4 separate regions of the Homo sapiens genome follow, and regions 1, 2 and 4 are each linked to region 3. Evidence: promoter capture Hi-C in 16 types of primary human blood cells and fetal thymus (Javierre and others, 2016). All regions are on one chromosome and are shown on one strand. The core of a region is centred on a gene start or on the middle of the fragment in contact, and the rest is flanking DNA. Distances in the headings are between cores, read along the strand shown. Region 1 overlaps TLK1 (tousled like kinase 1). Region 2 holds the start of TLK1 (tousled like kinase 1). Region 3 holds the start of CYBRD1 (cytochrome b reductase 1). Region 4 overlaps TLK1 (tousled like kinase 1).

Region 1 (2,700 bases), core at 74-2,573, 500 kb before region 3:
TTTGAGTTTTTATTTAAAAATGTGCTTTTTAAAAAGGTCTTTGTTGACCTTTAAAAATAAATCGAGTGAAAATCAATATATTAGTTAATAATAAAGAAATATTGTAGTTGATTCAACAGTCACTAACATAATGCCCAAGGAAGAAAGTATGTGAAAGAGAATGAAAAAGAATGTGTATGAAAAATAATTAACTTAAAACTGTTCTCCTTTATCTGTAATGAAAATGAAATAGCACGTTCATCCCGCCACACACCAAAAGAAAACTTAAGGAAAAGCAAACAGTCCAGTACTTAATAGAGATGCAAGGAAAGCCACAAGTGAATTAATTTTTCTGAATACAAAGAATCAACTTACTATTAATCTACAACAAAATAATTCTAGGAATTAACTACATGGGTACAGTCATTGAAATAGGAGTGGGAATGGTTCAAGTTTTGGCTTTGTCACTTACTGGTGGTATTACTCCAGAGGAAGTATATATAGATCTGGGCTTTCAAAAAGGTGTAATTAATGTTCACTCAAAAATGGTGAAAGCTTCAAAGTCTATAAAAAGTAATATGTAATTCCGTTAAAATGGGAATTTGAATTATGCCTGTGTCAGGCAGAGTATGGCAATAAGTCACTTAATAAATGGGTGAGCAACGACTGCTTAAACTTGGGAACAACTATAACAATAAATATTAGATAAAAGAATTCTTGATACAGTTGAGAGGAAAAAAAGTGACGCTCTGCTGTGATTTTCCTAATCTCAGAAGAGAAAACTAATAAGTCCATAAGTAAGTTTACATTTACTTTTTGGTAGTAACTAGAAACACCTATTTATTTTAGCCATGTATTTACTTTTGGAGGTTTCTGCCTGACTCTCATTCCTTACTCTATCACACATTGGATAATAGAGTAAGGCTATCTTTGGATTTATTATTTTTCTAACCCTGAAGAACAGCATAAAATATGAACTAAACTTCATGATTTATTCAAAGGTAAATATACTTTTTCATATTTTAGTTTAGCTTTTCAATTATAGTGATTATCATTATGAAACACAAAGCATGTCATAAATTATCCACTTCAAGAAAAAGTAAACAGGTCTTTCTATTCTCCTATGTCCATATGCCATGGGCTTCCTCAATGAACTTTGGTCCTTCAGTGCTAAGAAAGTTAGTCTAATAATTAGTTCTGCTTAATGTTAAGAATTTATTGAAGGGAGAAAGGGCAAGAGAGTCACCCATGCTAATGCAAGAGTATGCCAGGCTCCAAATCTAAACCGTAAACTGACTGGTTATATTTCCTGTGCAGGATACAAGGGGCGTCAAATATTCAGATCCAGCCTATGGTAGAAGCTGTATATTTACAAGTCGGGGTTCATGTCTGCTTAATAAACCCAGGAGCATAGGGAGCTGATAAGACAGAAGTGATAACATCTTTTCTTTTGACTCAAGCCTGTCCTGTGTTTTAAAAATCTGTTTAATCTTTTTTAGAAAACAGAATGACCTATTTTCCAACTGTGCTTCAGAATGCCAAATAACTTATTTTTATACATGTAACTTATTGCTTATTATTTTTTAACTGTATAACTCAAAAATTAATACTCGGTTCTAAGCAGGCAACTGCTATTTATGCTCTAAGGTGACATTACTTGCTTAATTTTGTTCCCTGTATGTACTACTGGCCACTTTCTTTATAATACACTCATTCTTCTCACCCAAAATAGTCTCTCAGAAGAAAACATGGGTATTCATGACATGAGAGTATGTTTCAGCATTACTGTTAATCCATTTCCCCAAAATATTCCATGATGAAGGTCAAAGAAAAGAAAAGTTATGTTGTAAATTAGTTAAAAAGAAGATAAAGTTAGAAATCTAAGACTGCTCAGTAAATTTGATAAAAGCTAGGAAAAAAAGCAGGAAAAAGATTATGGAAGGGATAATTATTGGAAAGAGTAAGTAAATACGAAAAATATAGAAGTCAAACACTGGGAAAGAGGAAAATACGAAGGTTAGAAGGTTTAGTGTTCTACAACATTTTACAAATGTCTATATAATATTTGGACACTAAGTATACCTTACTTTATAAAAGTGTTTTTCACAGAAACCAGTATTTTCAAAGTACCAGGAAAGCTTTAAAACCAACCAACCAAAAACAAAAACAAACCCTCCTTTGAAGCCTTTTCAAAGTGTACTTTTTGTAATACAAATAGCCAATTCCTAATTTAACTGCTCTACAATTTCAGATTTTATAACAGATTTTCATAAAATAAGGTGCATATGTAAAATGTCATCATTTAGAAAGAGTAATCTGAAATTTGGTATTACACGTGAAGATAATAACCCTTCAGTAAAACTCTCAAGTACACCTTGGAATCACTATAACTAAGTAAATAAGTATTCCTTTATCACCACAGGCTGGTTAGAAAATAACTGGTAAATCTTTATATGAGACATAAAGCATAGGCCCTTACGAACTCATTATCAAAACAGTTTAAGTGGGCACACAGATACTTACGACTCATCCTGTACTAAAAATTCCCTTTTCGCTTCCATAGTTCCTTTATATGGTTCTATCACTATTATAGAACTATTATGATAGTTATATAGCTCCATCTATTATTATAGAGAATAGACTTAAGTTGTCAACTAAGTCTCAAAGCGCAGGAAAAGTAGTCAATAATTACAATAGAACAGAATAGAACTACTTAAATAA
Region 2 (2,916 bases), core at 101-2,600, 360 kb before region 3:
CCAGGAACCCCAGGCGAGTCTATGCGCCTCGCCCCGTCCCCACCAGCGCGCACCCCCTCGTCCGTCTCCTCCGCCACCCGCGAACCACCATCCACAGCCAGGGCACTACCTCCCCAGAGCCGGGGAGCCGGGCGGCCTCGCGTCCACCTCGCCACCATCCCCCACCCCAGGGTCTGGCGGAGAAGCCCCGGGGCGGGGGGGGCGGGGGGGGGGCGCGGGGGTCCGCGGCGCGGGAGAGGAGGCCCGCGAGCGGGCGCGGGCGCGGCGGTGCTTACCTTCCCTGGGCCTCCCGGATGGCGGCGTGTGATTCAGCAGGGACCTGGCCGCCGCCGCCGAGCCCGGGGTTGGAGACGTGGAGAGCTGGGACCAAGATGGCGGCCCCTCCAAACTTCCACTGCTACTTTGGACACTCATCAAGCTACTTTCTGGGAACCCGACTCCCCCCCTGCGACGGCAGCGGCGGCAACGGCACCGGCACCCGCCTCCGTCATGGCGGGGGCCGCGCTGAGGGCGAGCGAGAGAGCGAGGGCTGGGAGGGGAGAGTCAAGGGGATGGGGGAGGAAACCGAGAAGAGGGGAGGTGGGGAGGAAAGAGGTGAGGGAAGGAGAGGGGACAGGGAGGAGGGAAAGGGGGAGAAGCGAGGGAGCGAGCGGGCGCGCCAGAGGAGAGGAGGAGGAAAGGAGCGCGGCGGCGGAGGCGTCGAGGGGGTGCCAGCCGGGCCGGGGTCGGAGCGCGGGCGGAGCGCGGGCTGCGCCGGCCGAGGACACTTCCGCGGGCGGAACCTGCCGGCACCTCTGCAGTGCGTCGGCCCCCGGCGTCGCCCGGGAGGCGGCGGCGGCGGGCTGTGGGTGGCGGCTGAGGCGGTGGGGTAACCTCTGCATCAGTTACAGGCGGCGGCGGCGTCACGCGCCGCCTGTGCAAACACTATCGCGAGGCTCCTGCGCCTCCGGTAGCGGCGGCGGCGGCGGCGGCGGCAGCGGCGGCCGCGGGAGCAGGCTTGGGGGAGGGACCTGCCAGGGGCTGGGGGGTGGGGGCATGGGGAAGGAGCGAGCGCGCGAGGGAAGAGACTAGAGCGCCGGGGCGCCCCTGCCGCACCCGCGGATCGCCGCGCGGCGCGGGAGCCCGGGGTTGCCGGACTCGCGTGCGCGGGGGCAGCGTCCCCGCGCCGGCCGGAGGGAGGCGCGCCCCCGCCGCGCCGCTCGGGCTCCAGCGCCGCTGCCACCTGACTCCCCCTGTCTCCCGCGGAAGCGCGCCTCTCTCCTGACCCACACCCAACACGGGGAGAAATGCTGCTGCTCTCGCTCAGCTGCCGCTTCTCGGGAGTTCAATGTGATCGTTTCTCAAAATGGAACTGAAAAGTTGAGAGTTCCTTCTTTCTTGCCCCTCTGTACTGTGCAGAAAAACGTATGTGCGCCTCCCCGTCTGCAGAATGGGAATAATGACCGAATAAAAGAGCTATGAAAATAAACATGGGTAGTGGGAGAGTTGGGAAATAAAACTTTCTCGTGTTTTCTAAAAAAGAGTGAAGAATCTTTAATGAGGAAATTGAAAATTACCAGTTTTGTAGACTGTATGGTATAGCAATTCTTTGTTTTAAAACAGTAAGTGGAAAATCTAAATGAAAAATGTGATTACTGAATCACATATTTAGGAAAACTATACAGCGTTCATCTTGCAGAAGGTATGGTTTCTAGAAACTTATAATTTGTTTCTAGTGTCTCCGCTGAGTCCCGACTACAAAAATCCCAAAATAAATAACAGCATTTGCTAAAATTTATAGATAGAGTGTAGCTTTCTACAGACCCACACAAGTATACTCACACCAGGGATTGGGCTTCTTGTACATAAAAGAGCACTCTAGTTCAGGAAAAGTACAACAAGGTTATTTCTCTCTTTAGAAAACCAAATTGAATAGAGCACTAAAAAGATTATGATATAGCGCTACTGCACAGACAAGAGGAAATGGCATGATTACCAGGGGGACAAAAATGTCGTTTCTATTTTTTATTTTTATGACTTCGCATTTCTCATAGTAATGTTTTGTTCAGATAAACTATCATACTAGAAAAGAACCTTGATTGTCAGTTATCTCCAGAAGTAATTGTAGTTGCCTTGTGCTTTAGATACTTCAGTGAGTTTTTAGTCTTGTCTGCTTTTCAAACTTAAGAGGGACATCTCACAAACAACTTTATTGAGGTATAATTGACAAAATAAACTGCACATATTTAAAGTGTACAATTATTGGCCAGGTGCGGTGGCTCACGCCTGTAACCCCAGCACTTTGGGAGGCCGAGGTGGGCGGATCACGAGGTCAGGAGTTTGAGACCAGCCTGGCCAACATGGTGAAACCCCATCTCTACTTAAAATACAAAAATTAGCCGGGTGTAGCGGCACGCGCCTGAAGTCCCAGCTACTCGGGAGGCTGAGGCAGGAGAATCGCTTGAACCCGGGAGGCAGAAGTTGCGGTAAGCCTAGATCGCAACGTTGCACTCCAGCCTGGGCGACAGAGCGAGACTCCTAGACTCTGTCTCAAAAAAATAAAAATAAAGTGTACAATTTGATAAGTTTTGATGTGTATACCTCCCTGAAACCACTTCTACAAGGAAGATGGTGAATGTATCTATCACCCTCCAAAGTTTCCTCTTTGTGGTTCCTCCTCCACACTACTTCCATTCTCTCCAACCACAGATCTTTCTGTCATATGGGTAGCTTTCCATTTCATAGAATTTTAGATAAATGCAGGCCATACAGTCAATTTGTACTCTTGTCTGGCTTTGGTTTTGTTTTTTGTTTTTTGTTTTTGAGACAGAGTCTTACTCTGTTTTGCCCAGGCTGGAGTGCCATCTCGGCTCACTGCAGCCTCCGCCTCCCGGGTTCAAATGATTCTCCTGCCTCAACCTCCTGAGTAGCTGGAAT
Region 3 (2,879 bases), core at 313-2,812:
GATCCTCCTTCCTCAGTCCCCCAAGTAGCTGGGGCTACAGGTGCATGCATTTGTATTTTCAGTAGAGACAGGGTTTCACCTTGTTGCCCAGGCTGTTCTCAAACTCCTGGACTCAAGTGATCTGCCCGCCTTAGCCTCCCAAAGTGCTAAGATTACAGGTGTGAGGCACTGCGCCTGGCCTTTACTGTTAACTTAAAACAAAAAATTATAAATTTGAAAAAAGAGGAGACTTTATTTCTTATAAAAGGTTATAGCCTGCAAGGAGGCCATTCCATAGGCTGATAAACATAGCCTCTGGCCTAAGACCAGAGACAGGCACTTGGAAGGCAGAGGGGTTGGGGTAGGAGCTTTATGCTGAACAGTTTGGCCAAACATACATACGTAACAGGTTACAGGAGGAGCTATGAATATTAATGGAGGTGGTCCTTACACATGCATATTGAACAAACATGCATGTAACATGTTCTCTTTGGGGTGGAGACTTAACATTTAATTGTATTACTTCAAATACATTTAAATGTATTACTTCAAACCTACACTTCAAAAGGTCTTTTCAGGACGTGAATGCATACAAGTGCACAATCCCTGTACACTGGCCAGAACCGGTCCATGGTCGGTCTTCTTATCATGAAAAAGTTCCTGAAATCAGCCCAGTGAAAGCTGTAGTTCTGGCTGGTGCAACAGGGGTTCAGCTGGTCAGCATCTGTGAACTGATTAAGTTGTAATTGTTTTAATATTGCTTATCTCAAGCCAGTGCTTGTTTAGCCTCTAGAGGAAAAGAAAACCTTTGTGGCAGTTAGACCATAGTTTATTTCTTAAGTGTAGGAGTGTGTGACTTAGGTCCTTTTTATAATTTGATGTCTTATTGCTACAAAGAGTCTGTTCTGTCCGCCTTATGATTTCTATTTTAAACATTAATGCTAGTCAGCTGTTGAGTCTAAATTCCAAAATGGAGGGGGTAGACTTCCCTTCCGGCTGTAGCTAGAAACTCAGCTTTAAGGTTTTTCTGGGGTCTGCTTGGCCAAGGAGGTCCATTCAGTCAGTGAGGGGCTTAGGATTTTATTTTTAGTTTACACCACCTTACAGGTTCCTCCTTAACACCCTTTGATGTCAGAGACAGCCAATTCTCCAGCACTGTGGCTAAGGAGGCTTCGTTAGTAGTTAAAAGCACACACATAACCCTACCCAACGGATCCCTCTCTTCTCTTAACCAAGAGGGCGCACCACTGCCCTACTCAACCTCCCCACAAATAAGGACGAGACACGGGAAGTGTTAAAAGCAAGTGGTGAGTATAAAATCCTCGGAATTTTCTCTTTGAGCAACTAACTAGGTCTGTTACTGAAGCCCTCTGCGAGCTTGGATGCTGGACGAGGGAGAGGGTGAGGCCACCAGGCAATGAGCGCCCTCGGCGGCCGCGTGATCCCGGGGGTGGGGCCCATTTCTGAGTTGGGGCCAGCTCCCCACCCCCAAGAGGCCCCACATTCCGGGCCAGCAGCCCAGAAAGTCCCTCCCCGCAGGCGGAGACAGCCCCAAGAAGTCGACGCCCCGGTCCCGCCGCCCGGCCACTACCCAGAGGGCTGCCGCCGCCTCTCCAAGTTCTTGTGGCCCCCGCGGTGCGGAGTATGGGGCGCTGATGGCCATGGAGGGCTACTGGCGCTTCCTGGCGCTGCTGGGGTCGGCACTGCTCGTCGGCTTCCTGTCGGTGATCTTCGCCCTCGTCTGGGTCCTCCACTACCGAGAGGGGCTTGGCTGGGATGGGAGCGCACTAGAGTTTAACTGGCACCCAGTGCTCATGGTCACCGGCTTCGTCTTCATCCAGGGCATCGGTACTGGCACCTCCTGGGGGGGTGCGGGGAGGAAAGCGGGGAGAACGGCGGGGGCAGAGGGTCCTCCGTGAAGCCCCTTCCAGCTGAGGAAGTGCTGGAGGATCGCGGGGCCCGGAGGAGTGCGGTGAGGAGCGCGCGGGAAGCCAAGTCGGCTGGGCGGGAGGGAGGCTGGCTGGCTCTGGGGCGGGACAGAGCTGCGGTTCAGGAGGATCGCCGCGAGCGCGGGGCCGGGGGTGCGCGGTGGAGACGCGCTGCTGGGGGCGGCGGAGCGGGGCCGGCCCCACTTGGTTAACTCTTTGCGGCGACTGGCTAGGACGCACTGGAGGGGCCTCCAAGACCCAGAAACTTGAGCCCGGGCGCGATGCCGGAGCGCCGCGCAGTCGGGCCGCTGCAGCCCACGCGCCCCGGAAAGTCGCCCCTGTGGACCGAGCCTGCGCGATCGGGGGCGCGGAAACACTTTCGCCTCAGCCTTTTGCTGAACTTGCTTCCAGGCTGCAGATGAGGAGGGGAAGGCAGCGGGGAAAAGATTGCCGGAGCGAGAATTTGCCCGTATTTGTAACATCCTCGGCCCTGGGTAAAGGGGCTGGCCAAGGGGGGCGAGTGAAGCATCCGCCCTGGGTTCCTCTCCTCCTAGAGTGTTAAACTCAGTCGAGTCCGGGAAGCTGCCAGGACTTCCAAGTGTGTTTCGCCGCCCTGCCCAGTCATTGGACGGTCTTGAGCCCGACTTGTTTATGTGGCAGAAGAGTGGCGAAAGTTCCCCCGCGGGGCTTCCTATTGGGCACTGGCCCAGCACTCCGGGTGGGAGATGCCCGGAGAGGGCCCGCGGCTGCCTGGCACCGAGGGATGCCTCTGCTCGGGATGCCCCCGGCGCAAGCTGCGTCCGTGTTTGGCCCGCGGCGAGCCAGCCCCGGGCCTGCATTCTCTGGGCTGAGGCTGGCGCGGGGGAGGGGCTCAGCAGTCGCTGGCAATGTTTGTTGTCATTGTGTAGTGCCTCTCAATGTCCTGACTGCTTCCTTCGGTTTGCCGTGTAGCTGGAGGAACCTCTAGCTTTT
Region 4 (2,879 bases), core at 253-2,752, 440 kb before region 3:
GACATGAAACAACTATATAAATCAGATTTCAAAAAACTCGGAAATAAGGTAACAGAACTCAAGAAAGCATTAAAAATAAAAGTTTCAGAAATAAAAAGTATATCTGAATGAACCCAAGAGCAAATATATACAGTAGATAATGCTTTAAGATAACCAGAAGGCAAAAAACAGGGACATTTTTGAAATCAAAAGAAATGAAGAGATGAAAAGTATTTGAGAGTAAGCTACAGCTGATGATGAAGCAACAAAGATCAATATACAGATAACAGAAGACCCTAAAAACTACTAAAGCCAGAAAATAGTAAAAACTGTAATTCAAGAAAATGTCTCTGATGGCTGGGCACAGTGGCTCATGCCTGTAATCCCAGCACTTTGGGAGGCGGAGGCGGGCAGATCACCTGAGGTCAGGAGTTCGAGACCAGCCTGACCAACATGGTGAAACCCTGTCTCTACTAAAAATACAAAATTAGCCAGGCGTGATGGTGCACACCTGTAATTCCCAGATACTTGGGAGGCTGAGGCAGGAGAATCACTTGAATCTGGGAGGCAGAGGTTGCAGCGAGCCAAGATCACACCATTGCACTCCAGCCTGGGCAACAAGAACAAAACTCCATCTCAAAAAAAAAAAGAAAAAAAAATGTCTCTGACATTTTCAGTTGTCAGTCTCTTGTTGTCAGTTGTTGTTTTTTAAATGTTCAATTAAAAAAATTGAAACTACTGACAGAGCACCATGCACACCTAGGAATAACAACCCAGAAAGCGAACATCAAAGGCAAACACTTTATGCCAGACAAAAATGGAGTGACATAAGCTATTCAAGGAAAGAAAATAAAAGCAAAGTGTTTTATATTCAGTAAAATCCATTTTAAACACATGGAAAGCATAGATAAACGGTTACCAAAAATGCAAGCAATTAGGGAACCCTGCTCCCATGAGCCCTTCCTAAAGAATCTACTACAGAACAAGCTTAAGACAACCAAAATGAATAGTTTACCAGTCTAAGAACTGAAGGCAAGCAATAATATGACTTATTGTTGATCAAGATTAAATGATAATGACAAGGGAGAGGATATAATATTTAATGACTAAATGCATGCAAAGTTAATAGTACAGTATTTTTAAAACTAGGGGATGGAAAGCATACACAAAATAATTGTTTTCAGTACCCACTTTGTTCACTGTGCTAATGTTATTTTGAGACAGCTATGTGTGTGAAATACAGAATAAAGTAAAATAATTAAGGGATATCCAATTCTATCCTCTGCTTCGTATCTTCGAATTTCATAATTCACAGTATAAAGATGCATATGAAAAAAACCTTATAATCCTGAGTTTGAATAGGAAATATCAATAAAAATTCATGAAATATTTTTATCTTTTAAAACAAACAATAAAAATATAAGTAGGTAGGTAGATGAATAAGATTCCACCACCAGTAAAAACAGAATACCTTATTTTCTACAGATAACTATATATAAATCCTGGAAAAAAAGGATTTAAAAAAGCCACTACCTGAACCAAAAGTAGGCAGAATCTAAGTACAAGACAACACTTAGAAGAAGGGAACAGAGGCTGGGTGCAGTGGCTCGCGCCTGTAATCCCAGCACTTTGGGAGGCCTAGACAGGCAGACTTCTTGAGGTCACAAGTTCAAAACCAGCCTGGCCAACATAGTGAAACCCCGTCTCTACTAAAAATACAAAAAACAGCCAGGCGTCATGGCGCATGCCTGTAATCCCAGCTACTAGAGAGTCTGAGGCAGGAGAAATGCTTGAATCTGGGAGACAGAGGTTAAAGTGAGCAGAGATCGCACCACTATATGCCAGCCTGGGCAACAGAGCAAGACTCCGTCTCAAAAAAAACAAACAAAAAAAAAAAACAGAAAAAAAAAGAAGAGGAGAAGAAGGGAATAGATCTGGGTAGGTTTCCTGTTTTTACAGCTTTTGCTGAGGGGAAGGTCCCGGAGATCAGAGCTGCACAAACAGCAGTTGAAACCCAGATCAAAATCTTTAGTCTTACTGGCTTGAAAAACAAGAGTTTCAAGCTTCCAAAGAGGCTGCAAAGTAAGGAGGGATACGCTGGAAAATAAAGATCCACAAAGGGAGAGTCCCAAATTCTGCATATTAACTCTGCCTACTTCTTTGGCTGGTCAGTGATCTATGCAAAAACGGAGCAGACGATAAGCAGCCTAGATAAGACTAAAACAACTAGCAGGGATGTCAGTGCTGCCCTCTGCAGGGAGACATAGCTTAAATTTCAGTCTAGCCAAGTTAACTGCCTCCTAAAACAAAGAAAAACAAACAAAAAACAGTCTCCAAAGTCACTGTAATGTGTCATTCACAGCGTGGAGGATACAATAAAAATTTGTAATCATATGAAGAAACAAGAAAAAGTGACCCATACTCAAGAGGAAAGACAATCAATAGATACTAATCATGAAGTAACACAGATTTGGAATCAGCAAATAAATAACATAAAGCAGCTAATATAAGTAGCTCAAACGACAAGATTGGAAATTTCAGCAGACAAATAAAAACCGTAAAAAGAGCTGAACGTAAATTCTACAACTGAAAATTTCACTCTCTAAAATAGAAAACTTACTGAATGGGCTTAACAGAAGAATGGAAAAAGAGTACTGAAGATAGGTCAAGAGAAATTACTCAAACTAAAGAACAGAGAAAAAAATATTGAAAAATAGTGTCTGTTGGACACCATGAAGCAGTCTAAGATACATGTAACTGGGGTCATAAAATGAGAAAAATATGCAGAAAAAAATATTTGAAAAAATGACAGCCAGAAAAATCCCAAAATTTGGCAAAGACATTAATTTACAGATTGAAGTTCACTCAATCTCCCAAGCAGGATAACTACAAAGAAAACC

What was found. The method cuts DNA at HindIII sites, captures the fragments that hold promoters and counts their contacts. A CHiCAGO score of 5 or more calls a contact.
Region 1: a contact is called between a fragment that was not itself captured here and the fragment with the promoter of CYBRD1 in region 3, in 1 of 17 cell types (M1 macrophages). The highest score is 5.6, in M1 macrophages.
Region 2: a fragment that was not itself captured here is called in contact with the fragment with the promoter of CYBRD1 in region 3 in 1 of 17 cell types (erythroblasts); the score reaches 8.6 in erythroblasts.
Region 4: a contact is called between a fragment that was not itself captured here and the fragment with the promoter of CYBRD1 in region 3, in 1 of 17 cell types (erythroblasts). The highest score is 5.5, in erythroblasts.

What each region holds. Positions count from the first base shown.
Region 1 is chr2:171,024,250-171,026,949 of GRCh38, forward strand. The region is part of intron 12 of TLK1 (tousled like kinase 1); the gene reads right to left. Among named protein-coding and RNA genes, the nearest start is that of GORASP2, 96 kb to the left of the region's middle. The HindIII fragment of the contact is 1,583 bases long and covers 533-2,115 here.
Region 2 is chr2:171,160,015-171,162,930 of GRCh38, forward strand. TLK1 (tousled like kinase 1) reads right to left here and starts at 879. Exons shown (of 21, transcript NM_012290.5): 1 at 276-879. The coding sequence starts at 414. RefSeq lists silencers at 50-289, 560-1,279, 1,410-1,469 and an enhancer at 51-695. The HindIII fragment of the contact is 4,171 bases long and covers 1-2,916 here.
Region 3 is chr2:171,520,912-171,523,790 of GRCh38, forward strand. It overlaps CYBRD1 (cytochrome b reductase 1), which reads left to right and starts at 1,563. Exons shown (of 4, transcript NM_024843.4): 1 at 1,563-1,827. The coding sequence starts at 1,635. RefSeq lists an enhancer at 1,652-1,761 and silencers at 1,872-1,981, 2,132-2,201. The HindIII fragment of the contact is 3,994 bases long and covers 1-2,879 here.
Region 4 is chr2:171,084,774-171,087,652 of GRCh38, forward strand. The region is part of intron 2 of TLK1 (tousled like kinase 1); the gene reads right to left. Among named protein-coding and RNA genes, the nearest start is that of TLK1, 75 kb to the right of the region's middle. The HindIII fragment of the contact is 1,076 bases long and covers 965-2,040 here.